Linked DNA regions of Homo sapiens: region 2 is linked to region 1. The links are contacts of gene promoters, found by promoter capture Hi-C in human tissues and cell types (Jung and others, 2019). All regions are on one chromosome and are shown on one strand. Each heading gives the region's core, a stretch centred on a gene start or on the middle of the fragment in contact. The rest is flanking DNA. Distances are from core to core; before and after follow the strand shown.

The links. The method cuts DNA at HindIII sites, captures the fragments that hold promoters and counts their contacts. A contact is called where the count stands out against the background at its distance.
Region 2: a contact is called between the fragment with the promoter of ISOC2 here and the fragment with the promoter of LENG8 in region 1, in 1 of the 25 tissues and cell types used here (mesenchymal stem cells).

What each region holds. Positions count from the first base shown.
Region 1 is chr19:54,447,817-54,451,144 of GRCh38, forward strand. It overlaps LENG8 (leukocyte receptor cluster member 8), which reads left to right and starts at 1,383. Exons shown (of 16, transcript NM_052925.4): 1 at 1,383-1,494. It overlaps LENG8-AS1 (LENG8 antisense RNA 1), which reads right to left and starts at 1,222. Exons shown (of 3, transcript NR_126418.1): 1 at 746-1,222; 2 at 349-399. RefSeq lists an enhancer at 1,133-2,040. The HindIII fragment of the contact is 4,932 bases long and covers 1-3,050 here.
Region 2 is chr19:55,460,332-55,463,767 of GRCh38, forward strand. ISOC2 (isochorismatase domain containing 2) reads right to left here and starts at 1,311. Exons shown (of 6, transcript NM_001136201.2): 1 at 1,181-1,311. C19orf85 (chromosome 19 open reading frame 85) reads right to left here. Exons shown (of 2, transcript NM_001386794.1): 2 at 2,670-3,436. The coding sequence ends at 3,141. RefSeq lists an enhancer at 2,696-3,418. The HindIII fragment of the contact is 25,257 bases long and covers 1-3,436 here.

The DNA.
Region 1 (3,328 bases), core at 133-2,632:
CACCATGTTGGCCAGGCTGATCTTGAACTCCTGACCCCAGGTGATCCACCCATCTCGGCCTCCCAAAGTGTTGGGATTACAGGCGTGAGCCAGCGCGCCCGGTCTTTGCAACGTTTTGAATAAATCCAAAATTATTCCAGAACAAAAAGCTTAGTACCAAAAAGAAAACAAAAACAAAAACAAAACAAACCCCCCCCCCCCCACAGAGTAAAATAACGGAAAAAGATCTACTATGCTAGCACTAACAAAATAATACGTAGTTATGAAAATGGTATGTATTTTTCAAGCTAGACGTTCATAATGGTAGAACATGAGGAGGAAAACTGCCTCTTAAATCCCACCACTTACTGTGACACAGTGACCGGTCCCTGCAGCGGACTGGATAGTTGTATCAGAGTCCTGGACGGAAACAGATGGCACTCAAAAGGTGGCGCGCAGTTCAGAGAAATGCCTATGTACGGATTTGGTCCAATGCCTCAGCCTGACCTCAGGGACCTTCGGGGGTCTGCTCCGCGCCCACCCTTACACATCTGTGACCCCACACACTTCCACCCCAGCGCCACTGCCAACAGCTACACCCATCCCCCTCCAACCGCGTCAGCTTCCAGCCTCGGTCCATCTGAACTCGCCGTGCCCCCTCCCCTGCGCCCTTCCAGATTCATTTGCTAGGGAAGCCCGCTCTTCCGGGTGGAGCTGTTCCTCATCCCCTTTCTTTATCATTCTCTCCCCAGGGCTTCCACATCACCGTGCTGTGGACAATCCCGGAACTCCTGTCACGCCAGTTTACATTTAGGAACAGTAATGGCTCCCACTGACTCAGTCAAAACAAGGCTGCGGCCGGGCACGGTGGCTCACGCCCGTAATCCCAGCACTTTGGGAAGCCGAGACGGAGGGATCACGAGGTCAGGAGTTCGAGAACAGCCTGGCCGACATGGTGAAACCCCGTCTTTACTAAAAACACAAAAATTAGCCGGGCATAGTGGCGCGCGCCTGTAATCCCAGCTACTCCGGAGGCTGAGGCAGAATTGTTTGAACCCAGGAGGCGGAGGTTGCAGTGAGCAGAGATCACGCCACTGTACTCTATCGTGGGCGACGACAGAGCAAGAGCAAGACTCCGTCTCCGAGAACAACAACAACAGCAACAAGAAAACAACAATAAAAAAAATAAGGCTGCGTGGGAGGCAGAAAGAGCTAATGCGGCCACGCTTGTCTCCTCGGGGCCACCGTCCCCACCCAGACTTCCGGTCTGCCTTAAAATGTTCATGCGTAAGTGCGTGGGCAGGAAGGCGGGCTCAAGCGCAGCTCGTGGCGTTCATTGGCTGTGCAGGGCCGAGGGAGGCGGTGCAAGGCCGCCGCGTGACGTCAGGACGCCGCGGTCAGGACGTCGAAGCCAAAGAAGACCAGAGCCAGCCGGGTGGCACAGCGGTGTCGTGGCCGTGTTGCTGATCGCCTGGGTGGTTGTTGGCGTGTCCCTGCAGCGAAGGATCCTGGTTGGTAAGGGGAGCGGCAGGCGAGCAGGCGGGCGGGGATAGCATCTCCTTTTGGTCTTGCGCCCCGCGAGCCCCGAGGCCTTCTCGGCCGTCGCAGCAGCAGACGCCGCGCGCGAGCGTCGACAGGGTGTGGCGGCGCAGGGGCAGCCACTGCGCCTGCGCACCGGGCCTGGGGCCGCGCGTTCGGGCACTAGCGCGCGTGCGCCGTCGTCTTCTAATTTCCGTTCCTCTCCCTTGGAGTTCTCGGGGCCCCGGGGCGCCCCTCACTCGCCGTTGACCGGGTGTTGCCCCGGGCGACGGGCGGCTCCTGCGCGTCTTTCTGGGGCGTGGTGCGCAGGCGCGGCCTGGGCAGTGGCTCCGTGGCTAGTCGTGGGGATCCGAGCGGCCTCCTCCACCCGGCGTCCTCCTTTGCCTTCGCCCAGCCTGCGGGACGGCCAGGTGCTCCCGGGACCTCAGGCCTCGCGTCTGATGCCTGTCTCTGTTCTTGAGACCCGTCCGGGAGTCCTCTGTCCAGCCCCCAACTCCTGACCTTACCTCTAATCTCCCTTCTGCCCTGGGGCTCCTCTTCCTGTGTCCCCGCCACGATCCCTCGTCTCCACCCACGCCCTGTGTCCTGTTTAAGTTAAGCCTTTGCGTTTCTAGGGCTTTTCCCCAGCTCCAGACTCCCGTTCCTATCCCGTCAACTCGTGGGAATTCCGGTTCTCCTGCGGGATTAATTATCCTACTTATCAGTTACTCCCTCTCGGGAGTTTAGGCTCCTGAATCCTTGCTCCGGAGACACTCCACTTTTCTTCCAATTCTCTCTGTACCCCACTCTTAATTCGTTGAACATGTTTTGGGTCTTCTTTGGCATTCCCAAAGCTTTATGTCCAGACACCCAACCACGGTGATCCCTTTTCTCTCCCAGCCCTACCCCTGCTTCCGGGAACCTCCCGTGGAAGCAGGCAGGGGTAGTCCCACTGAGGACTCCCACGTAGGTCTCTTTACTGCCCTTCGGAGACCTTTTTGAAATCAGTCTGTCAGTGCTAAGAACCCATTTCTTCACGTTGGGGTTCACGTTGGCATTCTCAGGAACGCTCAACGACCACTTGCTTCCAGGGTTAACTTCCGGAAAATCCCCTTTTCCTCTCAAAATTTTCTTCTCTTCTCCAATATTCTTCCAGCCCCCTCGATGCTCCCTGAAAGGCCTCCCTTTTCACAGAGTTCTCGGAAACCTTTCCACCCTCTCAGCCTTAAGGGTTCCCTCAGACTCTTCTCATTATAGCATCCATCCTCTTGGTTCAGGTTCCTTTCACAACCCGTACTCCCTAGCTTTTTTTTTTTTTTTTTTTTTGAGACAGAGTTTCGCTCTTGTTGCCCAGGCTGGAGAGCAATGGCGCAGTCTCAGCTTACCGCCCTCCGCCTCCCGTGTTCAAGCGATTCTCCTGCCTCGGCCTCCCTAGTAGCTGGGATTACAGGCATATGCCACCATGCCCAGCTAATTTGGTATTTTTAGTAGAGACGTGGTTACTCCATGTTGGTTAGGCTGGTCTCGAACTCCCGACCTCAGGTGACCTGCCCGCCTTGGCCTCTCAAAGTGCTGGGATTACAGGCGTGAGCCACCGCGCCTGGCCCCTAGAATTTTTTGTAGACCTTTTCCCCTTGATGGAGGCACCCCTACCCTCTGGACCTTTCATCACAGCCTCTCTTTGCTCACATGGGTTTCAGACCCTTCTCCTTCCCTTTGGGAAGTCTGCTCTGGCTTCCCTGTTTCCAAATCCTTCGTTTTCCACCTGGAGCTCTACAAAGGGGCCAGGGGCTTCCCCTCACTCCAGCCTTTCTAGTCCACACCCAGAACT
Region 2 (3,436 bases), core at 61-2,560, 1.0 Mb after region 1:
AAAATGTGTCTGTGTTGCCTATATCTATATCTGCTATCTCTGGCAAACAAGCAAGAAACGGGAGACTCAGGCGGGTGAACCAGGCACCGGGGAAGTCTGTAGGAGCCTTTTCACTGGGTCCTATTCTGTTTCTTCTGAATTCTGGACAATGTGCAACAAGTTGTCTAGTCAATACTATATACAATAAAGGGTTGGCATAAAGCCAAAACCCGGCAAAACTGATCTATGGCGTCAGAAGCCAGGACAGTGACTGCCCTTGGACCACAGTGATGGAAACGACGACGGCGGGAGATCCTGGGATGTGGCGCATGTTTGACTTTTTTCTTTGGATACTTGTTTACACCAGGGTGCTCCCTTTATAAATATTTATTTAAGCTGTGTATTTGCAAACCGTTCGATTTTCTGCGTTTGTGGTATTATTCCAGAAAAAGTGTTCAAAATGCAAAATACAAAGATGGCTTCAGGCCCCCGCCGTGCGGTTGAACTGGAGGCAAAAGGCCAGAGAGCAGGAGGTCGGCGCTGGGGCCCAGTGGGACAGGGGAGAGTCAGGAAGGGGCAGCTGGGACGGTGGGGAAAGTCGGGGAGAAAGGCCCCCAGTTTCTGGTCGAGCGAGGGGCATGATCTGAAGATTCATAGGGGATCCCGGGGAGGGGAACTGGTTTTTGGGAGATGAAAAATTGGGGTGAGGGTGGGTGTGTGAGAGAGAGAGATGTGAAGGGGAGGTCTGGGCTGGAGAGGGTTGGGCGTGTCCTGCGGAACGAGGAGAGATTCAGCCTGGGTGGAGGGTACCCAAGGCCAAAGGGGGCGTGGCTGGAGGTGGGCGGCAACAGGGGGCGGGGTAGGGCCGTTGATTTCCCCACCCGGTCTCGGAAACCCGGCCTTGGAGCCCGGACTTCCTGGCTGTGTGACCTTGGGCAAGTTTCTCTTTGTCTTAGCCTCAGTTTTCTCGTCGGAGAAATGGGGATTAAACCTGCCCACCCCCCAGCGCTGTTACAGAGGCGGCAGGCGCGACCCGGGGACGCTTCCAATCTCTGGCCAGCCAATTCTGGCGGGGCCAGGTGGAGTCCTCCTTCTGGTCCTGTGACCTTGGCCCGGGACGCCCAGGCAGAGCCTCAGTTTCCCCATCTGCTAGGCGGTAAGGTCGGTCTCCAAATAGCGCCAGCAGCGAGAGAGGACTTACCCGGAAGGTGCCGGGTTCGAGCCCGGAACGGCCCCTCTGCAGGTGAGGCGGGGGCACCCTCACCTCTCGGCTCTCGGACGGCCACCGCTGAGGCCTCTTGCGGGCTTCCCAGGGCTGGTTACCGTTTCGTTAGGGCTGGACACGTGGCCCACCCCCTGCACCGTCCGTTTTCCGCCCACTTGGGCCCAGCCGTCCAATCGACACTCATCATGCTCTGCCTCGCCGCTCTCTCCGGCCAATCCGCATGTGCCACTGCCTCTGCCCGCAATCGGCGCTCACCAACTCACCCCGCCCCCTGCCTCTCAACCAATCCGCATATGCAGCTGCTTTGCTCCCGCCCCAGGGGGGGCGGTGCCGGCAAGGCTGTCAGTCTCAAGAAAATGATTAGCTCGCAAAGGCGCCGTGGGGGCGGGGCAGCAGGTCGTTCTGCCAATGGAGAGCCGTAGAGGGCGTGAGTGGCGGCCGACGGGGCGGAGTCGCGCGGTGGTCTCCGAAGGCTCAGACTCTGGCTGGAGAGAGGGCGTCTCGGCCGGCCCCATTGCACAGAGCAGACCGCCGAGGCCGGGAGAGAGAGAGAGGGGTCTTACCTAGAGTAGAGGCATGTCTGCGGTTCGAAACCTGGCCCTCTCTCAAGAAACGGAGGCTTACAAAGATACCCAAGCACTTTCCAGGAAGGGGCTGGCTGAGGGAGCGATCAAGTGAGGAATTTGACGCCCCCCTGTCCTTTGCGCTCTGTGCTGCCTCAGTTTCCCCATCTGTACAGCACCTGCCTCCTCGGGTGGTGTTTAGAATAATTTAGACTCTGTGCTTGGAAATGGAGGTTGAGAGAAAGAGAGAATTTCCTATCTGTCTTGGAATAAATCCAAACTCCTCCCAATTCATGGTCGGCCTTCCTGGTCCGTGCAGACCTCGCCTCTCACCACTCCCCCTGCTCACTCCGCTCCAGCCACAGGGGTCTCCTCTTGCTCTTCCCTCAATGTCCCACCGCAGGGCCTTTGCACGTGTGCTGCCTCAGCCTGGAATCCTAGGACTCCCCATGGCCCAACCTTCCAGGCTTTCAAAGCCTTTCCTGACCACCTGGTGTCAGGTAGCCCTTCCATCAGGTCGCTGTTTTTAATTTTTTTGAAACATCAAAAAAAAGAAAAAAATTGCTCTATCACCCAGGCTGGAGTACCATGGTACGATCACAGCTTGCTGCAGCCTCAACCTCCCGGGCTCAAGCGATCCTCCCACCTCAGCCTCCTGAGTAGCTGGGACCACAGGTATGCGCCACCACACCTGACTAATTTTTTAATTTTTTTGTAAAGATGGAGGTCTCACTCTGTTGCCCAGGCTGGTTTTGAACTCCTGGGCTCAAGTGATCCGCCTGCCTTGGCCTCCCAGAGTGCTGCGATTACAGGTGTGAGCCGCCGCACCCGGCCTTGTGTTTTATTTTCTTTTCAGCACTAACTCCAATCTGAATTGGAAATGAATCTTGCTTTTTGAAAAATGCATGGATATACTCTTTTATTGTCTGTTCCCCGCCAAAACACACACATGCACACAGAACAGGGAGCTCCCTGAGGCAGGGGTCCCGTCTGCCTCGTTCACAGCTGAATCCTCAAGTCCTAGACCTGGGCCTGGCCCATAGTAGGCGCTCGATACATCTTTGGGAATAAATGACAGGAGAGCAGACATTAGGCAGAGGTGAGCCTGGGTGAGAGTGAGGGGTGGATGCCCAGATGGGGCTAGGCAGAAGGAAGGGGGAAGGCAGGAAAGCAAGAAGAGGTGGAGGTGGGGCCCCTGGGCCCAGGAGGAGACCCCTGAGGCAGTGGTCTGAAGTGGGGGTCTGGGTTGGTTTATTTTCCCAGGGGCTGCCAGGAAGGGAGTGGACAGGTTGGGGGCTCCTGGAGAGGGCTGTAGAGCCGTCGTGGAGGGGCCTCTGGCTTGTCCTGGGTTCTGGGCTGGGTTGTGATTGGCCTCATGGGGAGCTGGTCCCCCAACCCTCGGGGATCCCCTGAGAATCCCAGGCACGAGGCACCTCCCAGCAGTCCACCCAACCCCAGTCGGGAGCCACGAGATCAGCCTCTTCCCCCAGGGCATGCTGGGGAAGGGGCAGGGGGCCGCAGAAATGTGGGACCTGCCTCAGGTCCAGCTGGCCCAGGTCGCGATGGGACAGACCCGGCGCTGGCAGGGGAGCATCAGAACCAGAGGAGGGGTCCCATGGCATTGAGGCACACTCTGGGGTGAGCGCAATGTTGTCAAAGAGGTCGAGGG